Regions from separate parts of the Homo sapiens genome. Here region 1 is linked to region 2. Evidence: promoter capture Hi-C in 16 types of primary human blood cells and fetal thymus (Javierre and others, 2016). All regions are on one chromosome and are shown on one strand. The core of a region is centred on a gene start or on the middle of the fragment in contact, and the rest is flanking DNA. Distances in the headings are between cores, read along the strand shown. Region 1 holds the start of FAM83A-AS1 (FAM83A antisense RNA 1). Region 2 has its middle 26 kb from the start of ZHX2-AS1.

What was found. The method cuts DNA at HindIII sites, captures the fragments that hold promoters and counts their contacts. A CHiCAGO score of 5 or more calls a contact.
Region 1: a contact is called between the fragment with the promoter of FAM83A-AS1 here and a fragment that was not itself captured in region 2, in 8 of 17 cell types (total CD4 T cells, naive CD4 T cells, naive CD8 T cells and 5 more). The highest score is 9.0, in total CD4 T cells.

What each region holds. Positions count from the first base shown.
Region 1 is chr8:123,201,223-123,205,303 of GRCh38, reverse strand. It overlaps FAM83A-AS1 (FAM83A antisense RNA 1), which reads left to right and starts at 2,561. Exons shown (of 3, transcript NR_024479.1): 1 at 2,561-3,096; 2 at 3,322-3,660; 3 at 3,850-4,081. All of the region lies in intron 3 of FAM83A (family with sequence similarity 83 member A), which reads right to left. The HindIII fragment of the contact is 13,090 bases long and covers 1-4,081 here.
Region 2 is chr8:122,753,692-122,758,207 of GRCh38, reverse strand. No RefSeq gene overlaps it. Among named protein-coding and RNA genes, the nearest start is that of ZHX2-AS1, 26 kb to the left of the region's middle. RefSeq lists an enhancer at 784-1,078. The HindIII fragment of the contact is 7,858 bases long and covers 1-4,516 here.

The DNA.
Region 1 (4,081 bases), core at 1,312-3,811, 450 kb before region 2:
TAGCTGCTGCTTTGCTCAACAGAACAAGAACAAGTCCAAAGAACAAGTCCAAAGACTTCCTGGCAACTCCTCAGGTCCCCAGCACCTGTGTCCCCGATTGCACTGTGCCCCGCCCCAGAGCCCCGCCACACCTGCACACCCGCGCATCTCATGCTTTAGCTTTTTTTTTCTTTTCTTTTAAAATTTTTTTTTGAGACGCAGCCTTGCTCTGTCGCCCAGGCTGGAGTGCAGTGGCGTGATCTCGGCTCATCGCAGCCTCTGCCTCCTGGGTTAAAGCAATTCTCTGCCTCAGTCTCCAGAGTAGCTGGGATTACAGGTGCCCACCACCACATCTGGCTAATTTTTTGTATTTTTAGTAGAGACAGGGTTTCACCATCTTGGCCAGCCTGGTCTTGAACTCCTGACCTTGTGATCCACTTGCCTCGGCCTGCCAAAGTGCTGGGATTACAGATGTGAGCCACTGCACCTGGCCATGCTTTAGCTTTTATACTTTTGATCACAGCCCATGAGCAGAGAGGCGTTTCCTTTCTTTTTTTTTTATTTGAGACAGAGTCTGGCTCTGTCGTCCAGGCTGGAGTGCAGTGGCGCGATCTCGGCTCACTGCAAGCTCGCCTCCTGGGTTCAAGCCATTCTCCTGCCTCAGCCTCCCAAGTAGCTGGGACTACAGGCGCCCGCCACCATGCCCGGCTAATTTTTTTGTATTTTAGTAGAGACGGGGTTTCACCATGTTAGCCAGGATGGTCTTGATCTCCTGACCTCGTGATCCACCCGCCTCGGCCTCCCAAAGTGGTGGGATTACAGGCGTGAGCCACTGCGCCCGGCCAATACATTTTATTTCTATTGTTGTTTGGCCCATAAGTACGTAGCATTCACTTAATCATCTTTGGCTCATGACCAAACTCTACTCATTGGTCTATTCATCACCCATTTTCACTTATTTAACTATTTAATTGGTGATTTTAAGTAATATAGTAAGCACTTATGAACCCACTACCTAAAAGAAAAGGTCACATCTTTTTTAAAAATTTTTTCTCTTAAAAAAATTTTTTTGGGGGCAGAGATGGGATCTTGCTATGTTGCCCAGACTGGTCTTGAACTCCTGGCTTCAAGTGATCCTCCCTGCTTGGCCTCCCGAAGTGCTGAGATTACAGGCATGAGCCACCACACCTGGCCAAGGTAGCATCTTGAGGATAGTCCACATCTAGCCATAGGGTCCCTTCTTGCATCCCTTTCCCAGGACCCCTGAACTAGAACTCAGCACATCATGAATCCTGTGATCATAACGCCCTTGCTTTCCTTTTTCCATAATTATAGAATTTTTTTTTGTCCTTTTTTTTTTTTTTTTTGAGTTGGAGTTTCACTCTTGTTGCCCAGGCTGGAGTGCAGTGGCGTGATCTCGGCTCACTGCAACCTCTGCCTCCTGGGTTCAAGCGCTTCTTCTGCCTCAGCCTCCTAAGTAACTGGGGTTACAACAATGCTGGCTAATTTTTTGTTTTGTTTTTTTAACCATATGTTGCCTCTTTGGTGAAACGCCTGCTTATGTCTCCCACCCACTTTTCTGCTGTGCTCTTGTGCTCTTGTGAGTCTCAGCACTAATCTCTGTCAGGGGTGTGCATCTTGAATAGCTGCTTCCAGTTTGTAACTGACTTTTCACTTCCTTTAAGATGTCTTTCTTTTTTTCTTTTCTTTTCTTACTTTTTTTTTTTTTTTTTTTTTTGAGACAGATCTCATTCTGTCCCCCAGGCTGGAGTGCAGTGGCTTGATCTCAGCTCACTGCAACCTCTGCCTCCTGGATTCAAGTGATCCTCCCACCTCAGCCTCCCGAGTAGTTGGGACTACAGGCACGTGCCACCACACTCGGCTAATTTTTGTATTTTTAGTAGAGACAGGATTTTACCATGTTGGCCAGGCTGGTCTTGAACTCTTGACCTCAGGTGATCCACCTTCCTCTGCCTCCCAAGGTGCTGGGATTACAGATGTGAACCACCGCACCCAGCCAAGATGTCTTTCAATGAACCAACATTCTTAATTGTAATATAGTCAGATTAAGCAAACTTTTATGGTCACTGCTTTTTTTTTTTTAATGTGTGTATGTTTTCCTTTTAAAGAAATCTACTGAGAGTTTTAGTTTATTTTCAACATTCAAATTCTTTTCAACTATTGCAAGTCGATTTGTAAACAAATGCGTGCATGGTGGGTAGTAATCCCATTTTACATACGGGGAGTTATTTTTTCCAGTTCCTCCTTTCCCCACTGCTCTGTCATGCCCTGTGGTGTGTGAATATGTGCCTGAGCTTTCTGTTCTGTGTGTCAATTTGTCCCTCCTCCAATGACACATTGTCTTGATTACTGCAGTTTCATGACAAGTTCTGAACTCTGGTAGGGCAAGTCGTCCCTGCTTGTTTTTCTTTTTCGGATTTATCTTGGCTATTCTTGGAAAAGCACATTTAACATCATGACCCACAAGTACATAACCACACAATAATTTCCAGAACATCCTTTACCTCAGCGTGGTCTGATTATTTTTATTCTATTCCGTGTCATTTAAAAAAAATGCTAGACATCATCTACTAAATTGATTTCACACCCCGCTAATGGATGGTGAGGCACAGTTTGAAAAACTGCATTCTTTCAGGACACTGAATGGTCAGAACCCAATGTGCTTTTATTCATTCATTCAACAAATATTTGTGGCCATGTATAATGTATCAGGTGCTGTATTTACTGTACTTCATGCCAGGAAAGCAACAGAGAAGAAAACATACCCAGTCCAGTCCCTGACCTCATGTCATTTACAATCTCGGCTAATCAAGTTCACAAATAAATAATTCCAAATCATGATGGGAGTGAAGCCATAGAGGATAAGAGGGCTCGGGGTGGTGATCAGAGGTCTCTGAGGCAATGATCTGGAAGCTGCCACCTACAAGATAAAGAGTAAGCAAGATAGAGACAGCAGGAATGAGCTCTCCGACGGAGGGCATGAACAGCAAGTGCAAAGGCCCTGCGACTCGAAAGAGCATGAAAGACTGAGGAAGCGGCCAGTGTGGCTCCAACACAGTGGAGGAGTGGGGGGATCCTACTGAGATAGAGGCCCTGGTAAGGATGTAGATTTTTGTTGTTGTTGTTGTTCCTAGGAGCAGTGGCGAGTACTGAAGGATTTTAAAGTGGTTTGATCTGGTTTGTGTTTCTGTTCCTGGGAGAGAAAACCCATGGATGGCAGTGGGGGCGGGGCAGGAGGCCAATTAGAAGCCAGGATGATGTCTTGCTGTTGTTCCCCATCCTGTTCCCAATGCCCAATTTTGCCTGCCTCTTCCCCACCAGGGCTGAATAATTCTCATCCTTCAAGGCCCAACTCCAGCCAATGGCACCGACCTCCTGGACCTGCTAGGCAGAAGTGGTGGCTCCCTCTCAGCTGACCCCAGAGCACTTCCTTAGCTCCTGCTGATCTCAGAGCACACACACCAATCCACTCTGGCCACTCAGCAATTTTTCTTGATGGCCCTGGCATGGCACCTATGCTGGGGTCAGACCCTCAACCAGCCCTTCAGTGTTGAAATGCACAACCTCAGCCCTCTAGCCTCAGCGGAGGAAGCAGGGCTCTTCAGTTTGGGAGAACCATATACAACCAGAAGAAGGGGCCAAAATATCTGAAGCCCCCAGGTAGCGGGGCTAAAAGAAAGGGATAAATGGCCTCTTCTGGTTTTTTTTCTTTGTTTGTTTTTGTTTTTACTGGAAACAACTCTAAGGGGAGACTGGTCCCAGTGAAGATGATCCCCTGAAAGGCTAGTAAGCAGGTCACCTTTGAATGTCAAGGGCAAAATCACTGTTGGTGTCCTGTTCTCCCTCCAGGAGCTGGCTCCTCCACAGCTCTCAGGAATGACAGTAAACACAGACGGCCCTGCATGTATTCCGGCTGTGGCAGCCTTCCTCCTGGGCTGCACATCAGGCTAACAAGCCCAGCCCTCAGCTTCACAGGGATTGGAGAGCTGGTGACCCTAGTCAAGGAAGCTGGTGACCCTGGATCAGTTGCCTCCCCTCTCTGTGCCTAAATCCCCCACCCCACTTCTGTCAATTAGGAGGA
Region 2 (4,516 bases), core at 691-3,190:
TGTTATTATCATAAAGAGTCCCAGAATGGTAGAATGGCAGAGCTGATGGCAAGATCACAACAGCCTCTTAAATCTTACCAATATCAGTTGTCATGACCATGTCCAATGCAGGAAACTTTGGTCCCAGTGCTTGAATTTGCTCCCTTTTTACTGTTATCTCTTGCTCAGTTTCTACAAAAGCCTCTTAGAAGTGGAACTTAGAAGTGGAACTACTGGAACTAAGCATGTGCTGCAATATTTTTTTTTTAAATCTGTTTTATGAGCAAGCAAGTTTTAGAACGTGGAGCTGACACACCATTTCTAAGATTCATAGTAACCACGAGAGTTGGACAATGACAATGCCTGGACAGGGCCTGGAGAAAAGCGAGTGGTGGAGAGCTCCTTTCTAGAAGGATTTGAGAGTCAGCCAAATGCATTATTCCCCCAACAGCTTCTTCTTCATCCTATGTGTTCAATACTCTCAGTCCTGTGGGTTAAGCCTTTGCTTAAGGCAGGCAGCATCATATGGTAGAATGAACCTGGGCTCCAAAATCAAACACATCTCAAGTCAGGTATCAGTTCTGCAATTTATAAGCTGTGTGACGAAGAAAAGTTACTTACCATTTCTGAGCCTCAGCATCTTCACCTGTAAAATGAGGCTAATACCTTCACTCAACTTATAGAGTGGTTGTGAGGATTACATAAACCTATCAATGTAAGCACACAATATACATTAGCTATTATATTAATATGTTAGCTATTATTATTATTAACTTCAAGGCCATAGAACCCCAAATGGCAAATGCTGACTGGACACAGAAGGATAAAAGCAATGCTCTGGGAAGGAGAAGGAGATGTGGTAAGGCTGGGACTCTAGTCCCAGCAGACTAGGGGTTGGTGTAAGGTCCCAGGAAGCCAGGGCAAGGGGTGAGAAGGTGATGCAATAATGCCAGAGATAACCTTTGTCGGTTTCCCAGTGTGGCCAGGGCCAGCTTGGTTAATGGTTAAGTGAGTGGCGCCTGCAACGGCATGGAAGGCCTTCTTGTGTACTTGGGACTAAACGTGGCTTGTGAAAAACATTCTCCCAATTAGCCGGGCATGGTGGCGGGCACCTGTAGTCCCAGCTACTCGGGAGGCTGAGACAGGAGAACCTCTTGAACCCAGGAGGCAGAGGTTGCAGTGAGCTGAGATCGTGCCGCTGCACTCCAGCCTGGGCAACAAGAGCGAAACTCCGTCTCAAAACAAAACAAACAAACAAACAAACAAACACACACAAACAAAAAAACATTCCCCCAGAGAGGAGGCTCCTCAGGTTGTCTCTGCTGGAAGGGCTGTGTAGAGTGTGATCAGGAACTCCCCTTCCACTGTGGAGAAGCTCTGACATCGTTGCCATTGTTGCTGCAGGCATTGTTGCCACTGTCCTCTCTCCACAGCAGCCACTAGCGTATGAAGTACCAGGTACTGTGCTAAGACATGCATTGACATGCATTTTCTCTTCCCAAGAATACCATGAGAGACATATTATTATCTTACTGTTAAGGAAACTGAGACTCAAAGAATTGAATTGCTTAAGGTCACACAATGACTAAGTGGTAGAGCTGGGATTTGAACCAGGTCTTGGTGTAACTCCAAATCAATATCTTTACTCACTACACTATAATGCATGTTACCATCACTATCACCTTCGTTACTGCCATCATCGCCACTGCCACCACCATTACTAGCACCACTACCGTGATCATCCTTATCATCAATTTCACAAAAAGCAAAATCACACACTGTGTGTCATCTCTTTTAATATTCACAACATGATAAATATGATTACATCATCTCGATCTTGTATGTGGATTAAATGAGTTATTACATGCAAGTGTTTAGAGCAGTAACTGGTACATACTAAGCTCTTAATGAGTCTTGTTTATTATTATTATTAACAACTTGATACTACCCAGTTCAGATCCACTGATGAAGTCACTGGGGCCTTAACCTGGGCCAAAGCTCCCCTCTGGGGCTCTACGACAAGGAGGAGTGTGATCCTTGAATGTCTCACCACTGCCCACCTGTAATGTGACCCACGTGGCCTCTGACTCCTGGGCTGCTGAAGAGGTGTGCAGGAGTTGGCCCCAATGACACTGCACCCATGAGACTAATGTTTGAGATGAACAACCTCTCTGCCTGTATAAGAAGCCTTTGCACAGGGCCCTAAGGTGAGGCTAGGAAGGTGGAACCCCATAAAGTCCTGCTCCCAGGTGCCACTTTGGGCAGGTTTTGTGTTCCTGGCTGGTTCTCCTTTAGGTTGTTTTTGTCATACCTGGGGTGCCCCAGTTCTGCTTCTGGGAGTGCGTGGCTCATGCACCTGGGGCTTCTCTTCTCCCATCAGTTTCTTTCTCTATTCCTCTCCCCTTCGGGTCATCCATACTTTACTTACCCCACGGCTGCTCTTCTAGGAGTTTTATTTTTTTACAAATAATACCTGCGGCTTTTATTTCAGTGATGCTTTGCCTCACTTGTTCAGAGTCCAGATTTTTCAAAACTTGCTAGGTATCTGACTGGAAAACCTGGCAAATTTTTGGTCTTGAGTACTGTGACTGTAACTTTCCCAGTACCATACAGCTGCAAAGATGTGTGTGTGGCAGTGGGGTGGGGTGGGGAGGCCAGGGCAAGTCCCAGGTCTGGCTGGACTTAGATCCCTCCGTGAACACTTACCCATTCTGGGGGTGACCCTGCCCCAGAATTCATGGGGTACTACCTGGTGGCTTAGATGGGCTGTGTGTCTCACATTCCACAGCCAGCGATTCTTCTCATATAAAGTCACATGGAGGAAGCCCTGAGACCCCAACTCTGGGTTTTTCTGATTCCTGGACATGCAGCCTCAAAGAAGACATTGTAAAGACACACACACAAAAGGTAGACATTAAAGCAAGATGGAAGTATGTTGGAGGCAGAGATGGGGTACATGCTCATTGCCTGCATGCTATTTTGCACACGTGTGTGTGTGTTTGTGTCACTCCAAGAAACCATGGGTATACAGTGTTTTGAGTAGGCCAGAGTTTTACAGCTGGACAGACCTAGAGTCTAGTTCTGCCCACGCCAACCCCCATCCCTTCCCATCGTTAACTGTGTGGGAAACAGAATAAGGGTAGTTATAAGTGTGGGTTCAGGAATTTAGTTTGCCTGGGTTCAAATTGTGCTTGCATTGCTTATATCAATGAAATCTTAGGCAAATTGTTTGGTCTCTCTCATCCTCAGTTTCCTCACCTGTAAAATGGAGATGATAATTATACTGACCTATATGGCTGTTGTGACAATCCAGTGAGATAAATATGTTTCAAGTACTTATCTCAGGGCCTGCAGTGTAAACTTGAATGAATCACAGTTGCTAGTTTCTATGCACATCTTATGAGGCCGTTAACTGTTCATAGTCCCTCTCTTTCTTCTGTAACTGTGTCTGAGAAGGGAGACTGAGAGGCCTCTGACCTGCTTAACTTCACCTTGCCACTCCGCTGATCTGATCCGAAGATATGTCACTTGCCTGTCAGAGTCCTGTGAACAGAGGACAAAATTCTTGGCACTATTTGTCCAGCCTCTTAGTGGAGATGTCAGCCACATTGCTGCTGCTTTTCCTCGCTTTCTTGGCTTCATAATTTCTGATCTAATAACTTGGCCCATTGACCTCAAATTTTGCTGTGAGAGTGGGTTTAGCAGGCTTTTCCCAGCTGCATCCTTTGCTGGAGATGTTCTCGGGCCAGGAAAGTTCTTTATTCTCTTCTCTAATGCAAGGCAGATGCCATCCACCTAAAGGATGTGAGAAAGAGACTTCGCAGTTGGGTTTCTCTTGTTCTATTGTGTGTTCAATAGTTGCTGAGGACATTGGCCATCCCTTGAGGGTCTCAGTTTAACTTATGGCACCTGAAAAGGTTTGGCTCTGTGTCCCCAACCAAATCTCGTTGTAGCTCCCATAATCCCCACGTGTTGTGGGAGGGACCCAGTGGGAGATGATTGAATCATGGGGGTGGATCTTTCCCATGTTGTTCTCTGACAGTGAATGAGTCTCACGAGATCTGATGGTTTTAAAAATGGCAGTCTCCCTGCATAAGCTCTCTCTTTTTGCCTGCTGCCATCCACGTAAGACGTGAATTGCTCCTCCTTGCCTTCAGCCACAATTGTGAGGCTTCCCCAGCCACATGGAACTGTTAGTCCAATTAAACCTCTTTCTTTTGTAAATTGCCCAGTCTTGGGGATATCTGCATCAGTAGTGTGAAAATGGACTAATACAGTGCCTAATGCTCCTGCATCCACAGGCGAGTTGGTGCAGGTGGGAGTGGGGTGGTTGGGGGTGCATTAGATCCATAGGACCTGAAGGAGCTCTCTGAAAAAGGGGCTCAGCACATGGCTCCAGGTGTGGATGGCAGGATTCCTCTCTTCTTCACTCAGACCTTCAAGGAAGAGAGGGAAAGGTGGAAGAAACTGAGAGACTCCTTGCTTCTCCAACACCAGGGGTGGATGGAACACAGGGAATACTCAGATGCCATTCTCT